Linked DNA regions of Homo sapiens: regions 2 and 3 are each linked to region 1. Evidence: promoter capture Hi-C in human tissues and cell types (Jung and others, 2019). All regions are on one chromosome and are shown on one strand. Each heading gives the region's core, a stretch centred on a gene start or on the middle of the fragment in contact. The rest is flanking DNA. Distances are from core to core; before and after follow the strand shown.

The links. The method cuts DNA at HindIII sites, captures the fragments that hold promoters and counts their contacts. A contact is called where the count stands out against the background at its distance.
Region 2: a fragment that was not itself captured here is called in contact with the fragment with the promoter of PLK1 in region 1 in 1 of the 25 tissues and cell types used here (lymphoblastoid cells).
Region 3: a contact is called between a fragment that was not itself captured here and the fragment with the promoter of PLK1 in region 1, in 1 of the 25 tissues and cell types used here (dorsolateral prefrontal cortex).

What each region holds. Positions count from the first base shown.
Region 1 is chr16:23,677,050-23,681,035 of GRCh38, reverse strand. It overlaps PLK1 (polo like kinase 1), which reads right to left and starts at 2,147. Exons shown (of 10, transcript NM_005030.6): 1 at 1,696-2,147; 2 at 784-952; 3 at 1-122. The coding sequence starts at 2,103. It overlaps DCTN5 (dynactin subunit 5), which reads right to left. Exons shown (of 6, transcript NM_032486.4): 6 at 3,564-3,986. The HindIII fragment of the contact is 4,791 bases long and covers 1,511-3,986 here.
Region 2 is chr16:25,146,199-25,150,184 of GRCh38, reverse strand. The region is part of intron 4 of LCMT1 (leucine carboxyl methyltransferase 1); the gene reads right to left. LCMT1-AS2 (LCMT1 antisense RNA 2) reads left to right here and starts at 1,153. Exons shown (of 3, transcript NR_039998.1): 1 at 1,153-1,479; 2 at 1,946-3,937. The HindIII fragment of the contact is 4,005 bases long and covers 215-3,986 here.
Region 3 is chr16:24,745,707-24,749,692 of GRCh38, reverse strand. All of the region lies in intron 2 of TNRC6A (trinucleotide repeat containing adaptor 6A), which reads right to left. Among named protein-coding and RNA genes, the nearest start is that of TNRC6A, 18 kb to the right of the region's middle. The HindIII fragment of the contact is 3,228 bases long and covers 511-3,738 here.

The DNA of each region.
Region 1 (3,986 bases), core at 898-3,397:
ATCCACCTCGAAACTGTGCCCTTTCTTGCTCAGCACCTCGGGAGCTATGTAATTAGGAGTCCCACACAGGGTCTTCTTCCTCTCCCCGTCATATTCGACTTTGGTTGCCAGTCCAAAATCCCCTGGGACAGAGGGAGGAAGAGTTGGTACTTAGATGCCAGCCTCTGACATCTGTCAATGCAGAAGGCTAGTTAAGGTTTGACCATCCAGAACCAGGGCCATCTGATCCCACAAGCCTCTGCTCCTTGTATGTAGCAAGGCTTGCCCAGGAATCTTCCTCCCATGCTGACACCAGGGAGGTGCCTCCAGTGACACTTCTCACCCCTCCTTTTAGAAAGGGGCTATGCTTTGAAACAGGAACTGACAGGGATAGTAAAACTCCAATGCCTTCAAGGATCAAGCAAGTTAACCTCCAAGACTTGGCAAGTCTGTGAAGAATAGGGAGGAGTAGAGACTGTGGCAAAGAAGTCTGAAGGGGACAGCTGTTTTCCAGCCCAGCAAAGGGCTGCCCTAAGAAAATGCTGTCCTCGTATTACTGAAGCTTTCACCTGTTTAAAAGGAGTTCTGAATCAAACTTTTTGTTCAATCAAACCTTCCAATTTAAAAAATAAAAACAAATTCAAATTCTTTGTAAAAAAAAAATATTGCATTGGGGCACAAAAAAATAATGCATCTGTAGGCAAGATACTGACTTGTGGGTTGTCTCCTTCCTTTCTCCCAGCCTCCTCCAAATTCCAGCCTCTTGTAGTGATGTCAAGCACCCCTGCAGGCTCAGCAACTCACCTATTTTCACCTCCAGATCTTCATTCAGGAAAAGGTTGCCCAGCTTGAGGTCTCGATGAATAACTCGGTTTCGGTGCAGGTACTGGCAGCCAAGCACAATTTGCCGTAGGTAGTATCGGGCCTCAGGCTCAGTCAGGGCTTTCCTCCTCTTGTGCAGCTCCAGGAGAGACTGTGGGTGGGAAGGAGAGGGCAGGAGGGATGGGGAGGTGGATTGAGGCCGGTGGGGAAGGGAGAGGGTTACCAGGCAAAGGAAGCACAGGACTGGACTCTGGACTCCCAAGGGATGAAAGAGGGGTCTTGGTGGGTTTCTCTCCTTCCCTATGCCCCCACCCCATTCCTTCTCCAGCACAGCGGCATCTGGACCCTGCCTTAACACTGTCCACAACCATTCGCAGCACCCCTTCTCCTACTAGCTTCCCCCCTTACCTGGGGGTCCTCTCTCAGCCCCACTCCGGAAGCTCCGAGTCCCCAGCACCAGATCCCTTTCCTGACTCGTATCTCCCCCGGAAGGCCCGAAGTCTGGCTCCAACTACCCCCCCACTGACCCAGCTCCACCCCAGAAGCTCCCAGGGCGCGGCATCACTAACCTGGGACTCCTCCCTGGGTACTCCAGGGCCCTAGCGTCCATTACCAGCACCCCTCCCCCCAGCACCTCGCGTCCAGAAGCTGACTTCCCTATCAGCAACATGACTCAGACTCCACTTCACTGGAACCCCCTCCTCTAGCAGCTCCCAGAGCCAAGAAGCCCTTACCAAAGACACTTTCCATACGTAAGCGGGAGGCTCCCAGCACCCTTCTCTAGCAGCTCCAAGTCCCAGGCTCTCCCTTGCTGGGTACTCTTTCCAGCAGCTCCAGGTCTGGGCGCTCCAACTGCCCCGCAGGCAGTTCCAGTTCCCCAGCAGCGACACTCACCCTCCGGCGGCAGAGCTCCAACACCACGAACACGAAGTCGTTGTCCTCGAAAAAGCCGTGGAATCCTACGACGTGCTGGTGGGCGAGGCTGCGGTGAATGGATATTTCCATGGACATCTTCTCCCTCTGGTGCGGCTTGAGCAGCAGAGACTTAGGCACAATCTTGCCCGCGAACACCTCCTTGGTGTCCGCGTCCGAGATCTCGAAGCACTTGGCAAAGCCGCCCTTGCCCAAAAAGCGGCCCCGCACATAGCGCCGCCGGCTGCGTGGGTCCACTAGGACCTCCGGGATCTCTTTCGCCGGTGGAGCCGCCGCCGGAGCTCCGGGAGCTGCAACTCCGGGGACCCCGGCTTTCCCAGGGTCGGCCGGTGCCCGTGCCAGCTTCCCTGCAGTCACTGCAGCACTCATGCTCCCGAAGCTGCGCTGCAGACCTCGATCCGAGCAGAGCCTCCGCACCGCTCCGCTCCTCCCCGAATTCAAACGCGGCGCTGGGAACGTTACAAAAGCCTGCGCGCCACTGATTGGCCGCGGGGATTTAAAATCCAAACCCGCCCGCCGCGCGGCACCATGGGAGCGCCCTGCGCAGCAGCAGCCTTTAAACCCGGACCCAGCCGGGGAAAACCTGATTGACACGGACGCCCGAACACGTGGGATAGCCTGGGAAACCAAACCCGGCGTGGATGCGGAGACCCAGCCCCGAGAGAGGAGGAATTCCTTCGGGGTTTCTCCCTTTCTCGGGCGTCCGGGAAAGCTCCTGCGGTTCACTTGCGCCTCCTCCAGGAAGCTTTTACTTAAATCTTCCTCTACCTCGGGGCCAGGGAACAGTAGCATCGCCATCACCTGAGAGCTTGTTAGAACCGCAAAGGCAAACGTTCAGGCCCTACCCCAGACCTCCCGAGTCAGTGTCCGCCTCTCAACAAGACTGCTCAGGTGATTCCTACACATCCTGAAGTTGGAGAAGCACAGTACCAGAGCCCCCCATGATGCAACGAAGCTGTCTGGCCTCCTCGCTACTGAATTTCCCAGGGCCTAAAATAGTGGACACTCAGTTTCTTGGTCAGAGGGAGGGAAGGTTGGAAGAATGCCTAGCAAACTGGCAGGTCATAGCCAAATGTGTCTTGCGGGGTTTTGTTTGGCCTCCCCCCACGCCTTTTTTTTGTGTGTGTGACGGAATCTTGCTCTGTCGCCCAGGCTGGAGTGCAGTGGCACGATCTCAGCTCACTGCAACCTCTGCTTCCCGGGTTCAAGCAATCCTCCCGCCTCGGCCTCCCTAGCAGCTGGAATTACAAGCATGCACCACCATGCCCGGCTAATTTTTGTAATTTTAGTAGAGAAGAGGTTTCACCATGTTGGCCAGGCTGGTCTTGAACTCCTGACCTCAAGTGATCTGCCCCTCGGCCTCCCAAATGCTGGGATTACAGGCGTGAGCCACCGCGCCCCGCCATTGTAAAACATTTACAGCATTTAAAAGAGGAGCTCATAAAAGTTGGGATTTGTGGCCTTTCCTGAAAAAAATCAGCTCTAGCTACTTACTCTGTGCCTACATGCTTTCAGTTTGCCACAGTTTACAGCTACACCCGTTTGTTCTGTAGGTACTTGAGTGGCAACCCTGGAACAGTAAAATACCCACGTTAAAAGCTCTTTCTCTGTGCCTCCTTAGCACCCTCTGATCCTTCATAGAGCCCAGCAAAAATCAACCATACTATAAGCATCCTTCACCTGCCTTGCAGCTAAGCTGAAGGACAATGAGGACAATGATGCCGTCCTTTCTACCCCATGTCCCAAGCTCCCAGAGCAGTGCTTGGTAAAAAAAAAAGGGTACTTACTAAAATGTTGGCTGAATAAAAGGAAGACTTTGAAAAATTAAGTTATTTTGTACCCCTATAGTGTGAATTCTTTTTATTGAAATTTAATACACTTACAGAAAAAAATGTACATATTATAATTGTTCATAGAGCTCAGTGAATTTTCACAAACTGAACAAATCTGTAAACCACACCCAGATTGAGAAAGGGAACATGACAAACACCCTGCAAGTCTCCCTTGTGCCCTGTGCTGGGGGGTGCCAACACCACCACCTCCTAGTCTGATGATGTACTAGGAGATTCACAGACTCAGCCTGTAGTCATACTCATGGCTATGTTTTACTACAGCGAAAGGCTAGGAAGCAAAATCAGCAAAGGAAAAAAGCGCATGGACAAAGTCCAGGGAAACCAGGTGTAAGCCTCCCACAGTCCTCTCCCAGCAGAGTCACATAGGACACAATTCCTCCAGCAATCAGTTGTGACAAC
Region 2 (3,986 bases), core at 968-3,467, 1.5 Mb before region 1:
AATTCATGAGTGTGCTGTAAGGACTGAATGAAAACAATCCAAGTGAAGCACTTAACATGGTACTAGGCTATGAAAGCTCTCAGCACACATTAGCAAACCTGTCATCTGCAACTCTGTAAACTCCTTGATACTAGACTCGGAATGGCCCCCATAATATGTCATCTATAATAACTAACTTCAGTCTTCCATTCATTCATTCATATACACAAAAACCCACTTACTGCACATCTATTCTGGACCAGGTAACCTACTTTTTTTTTTTTTTTTTTTTTTTGAGACAGTCTTGCTCTGTCACCCAGGCTGGACTGCAGTGGTGTGATCATAGCTCACTGCAGCCTCGACCTCCTGGGCTCAAGTGATCCTTCTATCTCAGCCTCCCAAGTAGCTGAGACTATAGATGCACCCAACATGCCTAGCTAATTTTTGTATTTTTAGTAGAGACGAGGTTTCACCATGTTGCCTGGGCTGGTCTCGAACTCCTGGGCTCAAGCAATCCACCAGCCTTGGCCTTCCAAAGTGCTGGGATTACAGGCATAAGCCACTGTGCCTGGGCAAGGCCAGGTAACTTTCTACATGCCCTCGGAATAAAGTAGTAAACAAAAGACATAAAAATTCAGATTATGAAAATATGGGGTCACTTTTTAAATGTTCCAGGCAACTACATTAATGGATGGAGAGTCATAATGAAAAAGAACAGGAATGGGATACGGCTCCTTCTTCATGTTTAACCAGACCTTCTACTTAAAGAATCCCAGGAACTAGCCTTAGGAAATCTAAATATCAAACCAAGGTGGTGGAGTGTCTCATCCCAGGAAGGAACACTGAACAACTGATTTACAGCAGGGGTGTCCAATCTTTTGGCTTCCCTGGACCACACTGAAGAACTGTCTTGGGCCACACAAAATACACTAACAATAGCTGATGAGCTTTAAAAAAAATAAGTCACAAAAGAATCTCATGTTTTAAGAAATGTTACGAATTTGTGTTGGGCCACATTCAAAGCAGTCCTGGGCTGCATGTCGCCCCGCCCGCAGGCCTGGGGTTGAACAAGCTTGATTACAGCCTTGTTGCCTCTGGCCAGCCCACCAGGTGGTCCATTAACCAAGATAACCATCAGCCACTAGATATGCTGACCCGCATTCCCTACCCCTCACATGCTTTGCCCAGCTCAGCCTACATGCCCTCTCCCGATGTCAGTTACCAGGCTTTGCTAATAAAACGTCTCTCCCGGCTCTTCCAGAGAGCCAGCCGCAGAGTCTCTGCCGTCTCCCCGTGCGCTCAAGCACAAGCCCCCAACTAAAAGCCTTGTCTGGAAAATCTGCTTGGTGCCATAACAGATTATCTGGTGAGCCAGGTAGGAGCACAAGGAGTAATTTCCCTCCCTGCAGGGGAGGCTTGTGAGCCTGCGAGCCGGAGGGAGGCCCCACTGATTCAGCGCTGCCACCGCGACTGGCGAGTTTTCCTCTAGTCTCGCGACTGGTAAGTTTTCCTCTGGTCTCTGCAAGACTCCTCACCACTCCTGCCCCAGACAATGTTTTCCCTTCCCTCGCGTCCCCTATTTGTTGTCTTTTTCCTTCTTCCTTTCTGCTTTCCTTCCTTCACTTTTAACTTCATTGGCTCGAACTGAACAGACACCCGTGCAGGACGGACTGACACGGCTGGAAGGAACTACTGGGTGCCCTGGCTTCAGACCCAATAGTTGACAATCTTCAAGTCTTTCAGTGCTTTCCCTCCCTTTGCCACACCTGTTGGGAAGGGAAGCCTGTGAGCTTTTCTCTGTCTGTTCAGTGTTTGAGCCTACGGACTCTGGGTGCTGCCTTTATGCGGGGAGAATTGACGGCACATGGGGCTGGAGTTTGCCTAGCTCATGCCCTGATCTGTTTTTCCTTTTTGTATGTTTAATTCAACATCTTATTGACTGTCATTCGGTTACTACCAAATGCAGGACACTGGTCAGTAGAACCTGGACCTGCTGTAAGGCTGAAGAAGAAAAAGAAACCATCCAAGCTGGCACTCGGTTTTGGGGAGTTCTCTTCACTGCTCACGCCGGCCCTCTTGTGTGACCTGTACTGTTGTGCTGTGTGGGGCTGGGAGCCAACTCTCTTTTCGTCGCCTGACACCTGTGCTTGCACCCTGCCCCTGGTCCTTTAATAAGACAAGCAGACACAGGGGCTACAGTCATGGGCAATGCCCCAGGCATCTTCCAAGACTCACACCTGGGATGTATCATTTCTAAATGGAAGGAATCCAAATCAGATGGTTTAAAGAAAAAGAAACTCCAGCCTGGGAAACATAGGAAGACTCCACCTCTACAAAAAACAGGAAAAATGAGCCGGGTGTGGGGGTGCCTTCCTGGGGTCTCAGCTACTCAGAAGGCTAAAGTGAGGATCGCTTAAGTCCAGGAGGTTGAGGCTGCAGTGAGTTGTGGTAATACCATAGCACTCCAACCTGGGCAATGGAGTGAGACCCTGCCTCAAAATCAAATTTTTTTTTTAATTAAAAAAAAAGAAACTGATTTTCCTCTGTAATACAACCTGCCCTAGTACACATTAGATCAAGAAAAATGGCCATGGGCAGAAGTGGATCTCCTAGTTTTAACACTATCTTACCGCCCGACCTATTCTGTGAATGGACAGAGAAATGGGGAGAGATACCTAGCTACAAGCTTTTATGAAGTTATGCTAGGACCCAGAGCTACTGGATTCTTGTCAGGTGTGTGTGGCCCCTATTTCCAGGTTCCTCCTGAAGGAACCTGAAGAAGCGGACCTCCACAGCCTCAGGCCCCGAGCACTCCCTCCCTACCCTAAGCAGGCCTCCTGGGGAGGGGAGCCCCTGTGCTGTCCCCAACAGCGCTCCAATCGGACTCCAAACAGGCACCCTCTTTTGCTTCCCCACTGGCCCAGGGCTGTTTTCCCCTCAGAGAAATGGATGGAAACGGGGGAGTGACAAGGATCCAAGTTCCTTTTTTTGGTGGTGGATCTAGGACTATGTAAAAAACACTTTGGTAGATTTTCAGAGGATCCTGGTAAGTTTAGAGATGAATTTGTTAAACTAAATCTTGCCTTTTCATTGACGTGGCAGGATGTTATGGTCACTTTGCAGTACTGATGAAAAGCAACACATATTTGGAAAGGCTAAGGAATATGCCAATAGCCAGGTGGTCACTAAAGACCAATATGCAGTCATCTGTTTAGGGGGAGATGCGGTCCCAGGCATAGTCTCCACGTGAGTGAGACTATGGAGAAAACCTAGAAAAAGCTAGAATGAGCCACTTTGTCACCTGCCTGACTGAAGGAAGAAGGAAATGTATAGTAAAACCTGTACACTATGACAGGGTCAAGAAAATTACCCAGAGAAAGAAGGAGATCCCAGTAGTCTTCCTCAATCGAGTCCCTGAGGCCCTTGGGAAATGCACCCATGCAGACCCAGAGGCAGCAGAGGGGAAGCATCGCGTGCCATGCATTTTATCCTTCAGTCAGCTCCGGACATTAGAAGGAAATTACAGAAAATTTGGAGGCCAGACCCCAGACCCTGCTGTTGACTTTGGCAGAGGCGGCTTTTAAGGTTTTCAATAACGGACAGGACACAGATGGCAGGTAAGAAGAGGAGACTGACCAAGACAGCACAGCTTCTGGCTGCCCTAATTCATCCACCATCTCAGGGTGACCCTAGGATTCTCAGGAGACCAACTAATCGAAGACAGCCAACCTTGGATGGAGCCAATGTGCCTACTGCAGGATGGAGGGGGTCACTGGAAGAGAGGCTGCCCTGACCTCCTTAAAACAGGACAGCCGGCAGGCAACCCTGGCCAGCCGCCACTCCTCACCAAGCTTTCAGATGAGATTGATACACACCGCCTGACAGCACCCTGGCTCTGACTGCAGCACACTCCATCGTCATCACACCACGGAGCCTCAGGTCACCCTTGATGTGGCAGGTAGGAAAACAGTTCCTCGTGGACAGCAGAGCTGCCTGCTCGGTCCTGA
Region 3 (3,986 bases), core at 875-3,374, 1.1 Mb before region 1:
CTATTCAAAGCAAATGAATAAGCAAAAGCAAAAGCCACCCCACCCAAGAATAAACATAAGAGCAGTCTGAAATAGATGTTTTAGGCACCATCCTTTCTGGTGGAGCTCTAGAGAGGGTTCCAGAAGACCAGAGCAAGAGAGCATGAAGCAAAAAGACTGCCTAAGGAATAGAAAAGCCATAGCTACTCAACCCCACCCACTTCCCATCCAGATGCCTACACAGCCACAGATAGTAGCTGCTTCTAAATGCAGCCTCAAGCCAAAGAAATACTCTCTAAAGAAACAAAACCTTCCACAGGAGTCTGATAGGTGCTTGAATGGGTTTGGTTGTCCCAGAACAAAGCCCATCTTACTGGAGGCTGCTGCCACTCCCTCCATCACACTGTAAAGTAAAGCTTGCCAATCAACACCCTTCACACAGATCAGCCTTCCCATTCAGGGAAGGAGTCTACTGGGCAAAAAAAACCTTTGCAAAGGCGGAAGAAACTCACTCCGGCTACCTGTAGTCATCACCCTAAAGTCTAGACCCTAAACCTTCATTCATAATACCAACAACCAAAATAACCAGTTACCCAAAGAAAAGCATCACACAAAATGAAAATACCTAACTCTGCCCTGAGGAAGCTTTCCAGAGGGGACACTAAGAATATCAGGCAGGGGCGTGGTGGCGGGCACCTGTAGTCCCAGCTACTCGGGAGGCTGAGGCAGGAGAATGGCGTGAAACTGGGAGGTGGAGCTTGCAGTGAGCTGAGATGGCACCACTGCATTCCAGCCTGGGCGACAGAGCAAGACTCTGTTTCAAAAAAAAGGAATATCAGGCAGAAAAAGAGAGATTTGGAGATATGAACTAGACATTTTGGAAGCTGCACATTATTTATCAAGGCTGGAATGCATATGGCAGTAGGGATGTTGAAGAAGATAAAAGGAGAAAGACAAGTGCCTAAGAAACTGGAAGGGGTTGTTGCTATAGGTGCGCTGCAATGAGATTAAACAAAATTTAAGTTGGCTTTGCTGATGGAACAGACTGAGAGGAGATGCAGACACCGAAAAATGAAATGAATGACATTATGCACAATTGATAAAAACTTAGTAAAGTATAGGACTACTAAAATCAGCTAAAAGGATAACTGGAAGAAGAGTATGATAACTGTTGCTATACTTCGCTGTCATTTTGTTACAAGCAGAAGTGTCATGTGGCTAATGGAGTAACATAACAGATTCCTGCCAACTGTGGCCATGACTCACTCTCTTTTGAATTCTGTGTGCAGGAGGTAGTAAGACTGAACAAGCTCACTCACACTACAATCCCAGGGAAGTCAAGGAGCAAGAAAGCCACAGCATATGAGAGCAGCAGAGTAAAATCAGTAAACAACGGCAACTAGGTTACACCACTGTCATGTTACCTACCCTGAGACATGCAGAAGTCAAGATTAAAAGCTGATTACTAGTTAAAAATACTTAATCTTCTTCAGCCTCTGTTTCTTCATGAAAAAACTGGGGGCAAATGACCATACATGTCAATGTCTTAATATTTTTATAAGAATTAGGACTGCTTACTTAGCACAAAGCTTATCTAGTAAGCACTCAATTGCCTAGCCATGAATCCAACTCACCAGTCCTCAGTGGCACCCAAAAGGCTGTCTTTACCCTTCTTGTGTCAAAATAGCACAGGTACTTATTCAGAAACATCTAGCACCTTCAGCATTTGTTCTTCATGTTCTGCTGTGAATTACAGACATGTCCTTTTCTGATCTTCTATGTCACTATAATTTTACTCCATGTAATGGTCTCTATCTGGAGTATTTTCTCCTTTCTCAAACTTCATTTTCAAGACTTTCTGATGAGGTTACTAGCAAGTGTTTTCCTGGCCAAAAATATCCCCTTTAGTACTTAAAAGATGTACCAGACATTTCTTCTCAAGGAAATATCACAGTATCAGCCGATACTGTAAGCACAGAGGGGAGTAAGTTTTGTTCTTCAACACTATCATCACAGCCAACCAGTCATGCTTTTTCCCATATCTCCTCCTTCAGAGAAAGCCAACTGGAAAAACAACAACAACACCTGTGCCCAAACACGTCAGCTTCCAGGAGTTAAATGTTCATAGAGACTCACTTAAGACATCTGACTATATCATTTACCACAACTATCAAGAGGAGCAAGGACTGATGGATTTGAAAGGCCTAAGTGGGCCACCCTGTTTGATGCACCTGCCACCAAGACAACACTCCAGTTAGCAATCATCCATGCCCTGAAGGCTACTTTGCAGGATACCTCACATCTGTAAGTTCTATGAATCTACCTCGTTGTCTGTAAAAACCAGACTCCCCTTTTATCAGAACTTGACTTATGTCCTGCATCTCATGTATAAAGGCTTTGAGGTGGCCTGTAAAAGTCAATGCCACTGAGGGAACTTTCTAGGAAAATGGAAATGTTTTCTAACTTGATTGGAGTGATAATTACAAGGGTGTATACATTTGTCAAATCATTCACCTACACACTCAATGTTTGAATTTTACTGTATGTAAATTGTATTTTAAAGTTGGTTTCATACATTGACTAGGGGAAATGCAATATCTCGATCTGAAAAAACAAATAGATCAAGATTAGGATTCCACACAACAAATCAAGCTAAGCTTCAAATTTTGCCCGTATCTTCCAGTAGCCACTACAAATGATTTACTTGTACCGTTCAAGAATGCGTTTCTGGCCGGGTATGGTGGCTCAGGCCTGTAATCCCAGGAGTCTGGGAGGCCAGGAGTTTGAGAACAGAATGGGCAACATAGTGAGAGTCTGTCTCTATTTCAAGGGCCTATCAAGGGAGCAGGGTACACCTTGGAGGTAGAATGCCCCTTCCTACTCTTGCGCCTCCTGACACTTGATGGTCAATTTTTCCTACATTCCCAGCCCTGAATATCATTAAAATTAATCCCTTCTGAAGGGTACTCTTGTACTTGCTATCAGAAGTATGTATGGACTAGCACTAAGCTTCTGGTGAGCAATTTGGAAGTATCTATTCACAATGAATTTTTAAATGTCACTATCTTATGATCCATCAATTCAAATCTAAGCCTCTGAAAAAGGAACCGTACAAAGATAGACACCGCAGCATAAAATCATAACCAAAAACCAATCAATAGGGAAAAGTTAAATCATCCTGTAATCACACCAAGGAATACTACACAGTAATTTTAAAGTGGGGCGGGGAGTAGATTTCCATAGTGTACAGAACCAGCTCCCAATAGAAACCTCAAGCACTAAACTTCTTATTTATTTATTTAGAGACGAAGTCTCACTCAGTTGCCCCGAGCTGGAATGAGGTGGTGCTGGTGTCAAACTCCTGGGCTCAAGCAATCCTCCTACCTCGGCCTACCAAAGTACTGGGATTACAGGGGTGAGCCACTGCACTCAGCTAGGAAACATGATTTTTTTTATAGGAAAAAAATTCCTACAATTTTGTAGAAACAACTGAACACATCTGAAATAAGAAAACAAGCAAACATTTGGTACAGGTTGTAAACAAGATTAGTGAAGTAAGACAGGTATAAGAGCTGTTTCAACTGTGGAAGGCTTTATGGAGCAGTAAGAAGTTGATCTGGCTCTTGCAAAAGAGGCAAGATTTTTTAGGAGCACAGAAAGGTGTGGGCACAAGCGAAGTATGGAGACTTGTCAGCATGACAATTGCAGGGACCAGCACTGACTGGAATTGAAAAAGGGAGGGAAAATGTTGGGTAAGAATAGGCAATAAATTGGCAAAAACAAGGGTGAGAAGACTGTTGCGAAAATCTAAGTGAATGTGTAGTTCCCCAAACTAGCATGGTGGCAGTGAAAAAAGCAAGCAAAGAATAAATCTGAGATAACTCAAAATATCCTAACAATTAGCTGGGGGGGGGGGGGATGGTACATACCTGTAGTCTCAGCTACATGGGAGGCTGAGGCCCAAGAATCAACTGAGCCTAGGAGTTGGAGGCTGCAGTGAGCTATGA